2 separate regions of the Homo sapiens genome follow, and region 2 is linked to region 1. Evidence: promoter capture Hi-C in human tissues and cell types (Jung and others, 2019). All regions are on one chromosome and are shown on one strand. Each heading gives the region's core, a stretch centred on a gene start or on the middle of the fragment in contact. The rest is flanking DNA. Distances are from core to core; before and after follow the strand shown.

Region 1 (2,829 bases), core at 173-2,672:
AGGAATCCATCTTTTAGCTTTTTTTTTCCCCTTCAGACTAAATAAACCTTATTTCATTCTTCTCACAGGTCATAGTTTCCACTTCTTTAATTATTTGTTACTCTTCTCAGAACTTTCTCCAGTTTTCCTCTTCTTTTAAAAAACTGAGACCAAACCTTCAAAACAGAGTAATAACTGGCTTAGTTCTGGGCACAGGAAATGATTCTTTCTAAAATGTCACATCCCAGGCAAGATTTCTTTGCAGGGTTTTCCACCTGTTTTTAATGCTATCAAGATGAAAGCATTAAGTTCATGTTATCTTGATATGTTAATTTTAGACAAAACGTGATCATAATGGAACACATTTTTCCATAATTTTCTGTCTTAATTTCAAAGGCCCAGAGTTATAACGGGTGTTGTCTCGATTCTGTTTTTTTCTAATTTCACGAAAATTTAGGCAGGAGATTCCAGAATGGTAGCAGTTTGGTTCTCTTTCTCCTATAAAATAGCTTATGTCATTAAATGTATGAGGCAAAACTGTCAAGCTTTTTTCTTAATTGTGCTTTTGCTCCCACTCATTCCAACAAGTTAAACCCTTGGCTAGTTAAAATGTGAGAACAGAAAAAAGGGAATTTTCTTAGACATCAGTCAAAAGTGGAAGCAGTGGGGGCCAAGGCTCAGAGATCTCGACCTCTCCGACCACGTCTTTGGGAGTAATTTTCCATGCGGACTGGAGCACGATCTTGTAAGCACAGCCCCGGCATTACACACGTTGGGCTCCGATTCCGCAGGATTTACAAGCCTCATTACTGGAAAGAGTCTAAGGCTCTCTTGGCACAAGCGGCGGAGCAAGAAATGTTCACTGGACAATAAAACTTTCGGTTTACGGAGTAAAATAAAATCACGGCCTTCCTTTTACAGGGTGATGAACCTGCCCCTGAATTAATGAGGGGCGATCCATTTCCATGGCTTAAGAGTCTGGCGAGGTCCCAGTCAGCCAAGATTGCCGCAGATTTGCAGTCACTTCAGACTGGGTGGAGTATCCAAGTCCATAGAAGAGCAAATTCTCACCCTTCGAGGCTGCTGTGGAAGCTACCGGGGCTGGGACAGCAGAGAGGAACCCAGACGGGAACACCGCCCTCCCGCCAGACTCCCGGCGGCTCCTCCTCCCTCTCCCAAACCCACTCCCAAAGCTAAGTGCAGGCTTCCCCGTTCCAGCCAGAAGCGCTGCGTGAGCCTCCACACGTAGCCGCAGGCAGCTCCTTAAATAGCGTCCGCGCTGAGCAAACAGTCCAGACGTGGGGCCCAGGAGGGCGAGCTGAGGCGACCGCACCGGGCGCGCAGCGGCGGCGGGTCAGCCGGCGGCCAATAGCCAGGGCGCGGCCCGCCCCGTCGCCTCCCCTCGGGGAGCCTATAAGGCCTCCGCAGCGCCCCGGGCGCCTGCTGCTCCGTGCCTCCACCGACGACCTCACTCAGCTGCGTTACGCGCCGCTCCGGCTGCCGGCCGCGCGCCTTGCCCGCCGGCTCCCGCCCGCAATCGGCGGCTCAGGGCGGACCCGGGTCTCTGCGTTCTCGCGAGAAGCGCGGCGCTGCGGGGCCGTGGGCGCCTGAGCCCGCGCGGCCCTCGAGGGCCGAATATGGGGGGATGCACGGTGAAGCCTCAGCTGCTGCTCCTGGCGCTCGTCCTCCACCCCTGGAATCCCTGTCTGGGTGCGGACTCGGAGAAGCCCTCGAGCATCCCCACAGGTGAGCACCCCGCGGTCCGCCGCTGTCCCGCGAGGCTCGGCCGGCGGGGGGGCAGTTCATTCATCCACCAGCCCTTCCGCGGGGCTGGCCAGGTGAGTAGTGGGGGCCTGTCCCTCCTCTCCAGGACCGCCGGGGTCTTCCCCAGAATTGCGGTCGGGCGGCGCTGGTCCCTGGGGAAGTGTAGGGGCACCCGCCCTCGTTGACTCCTTGGAGTTCTCGGTGAACTCAGCGTGCCCGAATTTCCCTGCAGAACAAGTTGGAGTTTCCTTTTGGACTTGCAGGTCATGGGCACCAACACCTTTCCTGCAGCTCTCCTTTCCCCTCCTTTCCGAGAGTTGGCATGGATTTATCCTTGATGGACGAGGCAGTACTCCTTCTGTGACCTAAACACGGGGCTTAGTGTACTTTCTAATTGATGGTGACACATTCCTTCCAGCACCCCAGGAAGCAGCCGGTAACACCTCCCTCTTGCCAAAAACAACGCTCGCTCGAAAACCTTAGTTGTTTTCAGTAAGGCTGCCTGGCTACCCAGTACCTCCAGGCGGCAGCTTTCTTCCTTTGGGATCTGAAGGGGAAGCTGTGGACACACAGCTGCTCCCCTTACCTACCCTTTTCTTGAGCCCGGTGCTGTCTCTCGTTTTCAGAAGCTGTGTAAAACAAAACGTTTTATATTTAGCCAGATTAAAGAGAGTTTCACCACGTCTGTCTAAACATGCTTTGCTGCCTTTTGTGGCACATGAAAAATCCTTGGAGTTTTCCACATTTGTGCTCTTTGTGCTCAACTCTCTGAAATTAGATCTTGCATTTAAATGACCTTCTAATGTCCTTTTTGTTTTGTTTTGTTTTTTGTTAAGTCATCTTGGCACCATTTTTTCCCCCAAGTTTATAATAGAGTGCTTTTCTACTTGAACTTTTCTTAAGCCTAAGGACAGAAATTTCTATTTCAGAGTTACATTCAGAAAGTGACATTTGGTTTGCAGTCCAGCTAATCCATGTAGCGATAGTTTTGTCTTCATCTTTAAGTGTTTCAGAAAGCGTCAGCAGGCTGAACTGCCTATCTTTCTACAAAACAGTGCTTGCTTTGTTAGCTTGAGAAACTTCAGC
Region 2 (2,829 bases), core at 108-2,607, 44 kb after region 1:
CAAGATGAAGTATGGTAAGGCAAGTGTTAGCCATAGTGTACTGGGAATTTTTCTACAGCATTTGTTATTTTTTTTACACTTAGAAAAAGAATACCAAGTTCATTAAAATAGCTCTGTAGAATAAATACTGGGTATGTTTTGGTTTAAAATTACCATGGATTTCAAACAACCATATTAGTCAGCTTAAACTTGCCACATGTACATTTTCACTTTGGCTCTGAGGCAGATTCTCCTTGTAAGAGTTACTACATGTGAGTCAGAAATGATTTTACATCCTCAAGCTTCCTTTTGGGTTTTAGGAAGAACTTTTCTCTACCATCACTCTCGCATCACCATCCCCCACCTCCGGCCCCCTATCTAATATTTGTCCTTGTGGACAACTGGTATAGTGAGGGACCTATTTTTTTCTCATGAGAAGAAGGACACTGTGATATACCTAAAGCCTGCTTGAGGTTGAGTTTGTTGATTTAGATGATACTTTAGGACCCAGCTTGACAGAAAAGATAATAAAATTTTAATGGAAGACACAGTGTCTTCCAGGCACTGTTAGTGTTTGGGATATATAATGGAAACAAACAGATAAAATTTCTGACATCTCCTGTGAGAACAGCCAGCTAACTGAAAACATGGGTGCCCACTCAGCCAAGTTGTTGTCTAAGAAGAGTCATTAACATTTTCTGCATCATTACCTACCATGACTATCCTGTGGAAAAAACCTAGGGGTCATGAGAAAGTAACCAGGAGGTTAAAGAGGGATGAGCAATTGAAGCCACATAAGAAATTTTTTTTACCCTTCTTATTTTTTAAAAACAACACCCTTTTTAAAAAGTTTATACAGAGTAATGAATCTAGTTGAAAATTGTAATCTAGGGCCTGGGAGAATGAATTAAACTGTTTGTAAATGGTTTGAAATATGATGCCCATTCTGTAACACAATTCCTAAACTCTTAATTAAGGTTAGCTCTGGTAAAGGTCCAGAATTCAGGATATGTTCATTTTAATAAAGCAAAACATTCTTATTTTTTATGTGGTATTTTTAAGGACAACTCAACTGTTTTATGGAAGCATAGGTCACTATCATATGAAAATATACACAGATGTATATACTTAGTGGTTTAGATGAGCCTTTTAAGAAACACAGCTTTGTTAGGGCATAATTTATATAACATGCCATAAACATTTGTAAGTGTAAAATTCAATGAATTTAATTAAATTTACAGAGTCGTGCAGTCATCCCCATTATGCAATTTTAGAATGTTTCCAATACCCCATAATTATCCCGTATTCCATTTAGACATGCTAAAAAGCCTGAATTAATTTAGAAACAATTTTGTCGCATTCCTTCCATGGAATATGTATTCTAAACTTACTTTTGGATGAACGTTTAAAATTAGAAACTGGCTCTTTATAATCTGTAGGGTAAGATTTATTATATTTAATTTAGATAAAAAAATTTAGATATTTGGCAAGGTTTTAGGTTATTCTCAGAACAAAAGGAAAACTGAAGATATCCATATATGAGTGAGACCATCTGATACTGTCTTTTTGTGCATGGCTTATATCATTAACCTAGTAACCTCCAGTTGTAACCATTTTATTGTTGCAAATAACAGGATTTCCTTCTTTTTTATGGGTGAATAATATTCCATTATGTGTGTACTCCGTATTTCCTTTATCCATTCATCTGTTGATACATACTTAGATTTGTTCCATATATTTACTATTATAAGTAGTGTTGCAGTAAACATGGAAGTATAGGTATCCCATTGATATACTTATTTTCTTTCCAACAGCACAACAAAAATATCCCCCATGATCAAGTGGGATTTATCCCAGGAATGCCAGGATGGTTCAATATTTATCTGTTAAAATTGTATTTGTTTTATGCCAACTAACTCCCTTTCCCTCCCTCCAAAATTTATAAAATAATTTTAATCATTTTATTGTGATTTTATCATAATCTGTTGTGCAAAGTCAACTGGGTACGTGGGTGTTTTTAACTGTGTGTGTGCGTGTGTGTGTCTGTGTGTCTGTGTCTGTGTGTCTGTGTCTGTGTGTTTTGAGGGTGGGTGGTTAGGAGTGGATCCATAGTATTGGTTTGTGATGTTAATTATCTCTGGAAATATAGACATATGCTTCAGGTGAAGATATGATGAAAGAATTATCAGGTGTGAAGCTACTTCTGTGCTGCTAATAGTTTGGATGATTATAATTTTTGCTGAAGTTTATGCCAATAATGATAAAGGATTGGGGCTAAATGACAAGGTTAGGGAACACTTCTGTTGCTTTCTTTTTTGGCTATATGGGAGCTTTTGCTTCTTGTTGAGACTCAAGATGATGGATTCTGTGGCTTGTACCACTGCCTGTTTTTGTAAAAAGTTTTATTGAAATGCAGCTGTGCTCATTTGTTTACATATTGTCTGTGGTGGCTTTTGCAACACAGTGACAGAGTTCAGTCACTGTGACAGACAATATGGTCATCAGGACCTAAAATATTTTCTGTAAAAGGCCAGAGAGTAAATATTTACTGACTCCCGCTTTAGGCCATAGTTGAGAACCATTGATACAGTCTGGGAACTGGCACAGAATCATTTTTAAAATAGTTTGTCAGACAGTCTTATTTATGAGTGAGGAAGAGATGGGTAATGTAGAGGTCTCTAGGGTTTTAAAATTAATCTAGCCTTGTGCCTTCTAGTGGGAGTGGAGAGGATTTGAATGCAAAATAAATTAAGTAGATGGAATCAATAGGATTAAGGAAAAGATTCCATGAGATAGGCCATGGAAAGAGAGGAGTGAAGGGTGAATGAAAGATTTTCAACCTAGGTGACT

Evidence for each region. The method cuts DNA at HindIII sites, captures the fragments that hold promoters and counts their contacts. A contact is called where the count stands out against the background at its distance.
Region 2: a contact is called between a fragment that was not itself captured here and the fragment with the promoter of PLOD2 in region 1, in 1 of the 25 tissues and cell types used here (aorta).

What each region holds. Positions count from the first base shown.
Region 1 is chr3:146,159,777-146,162,605 of GRCh38, reverse strand. It overlaps PLOD2 (procollagen-lysine,2-oxoglutarate 5-dioxygenase 2), which reads left to right and starts at 1,422. Exons shown (of 20, transcript NM_182943.3): 1 at 1,422-1,725. The coding sequence starts at 1,617. The HindIII fragment of the contact is 5,771 bases long and covers 1-2,085 here.
Region 2 is chr3:146,115,458-146,118,286 of GRCh38, reverse strand. The region is part of intron 3 of PLOD2 (procollagen-lysine,2-oxoglutarate 5-dioxygenase 2); the gene reads left to right. Among named protein-coding and RNA genes, the nearest start is that of PLOD2, 44 kb to the left of the region's middle. The HindIII fragment of the contact is 5,917 bases long and covers 1-2,829 here.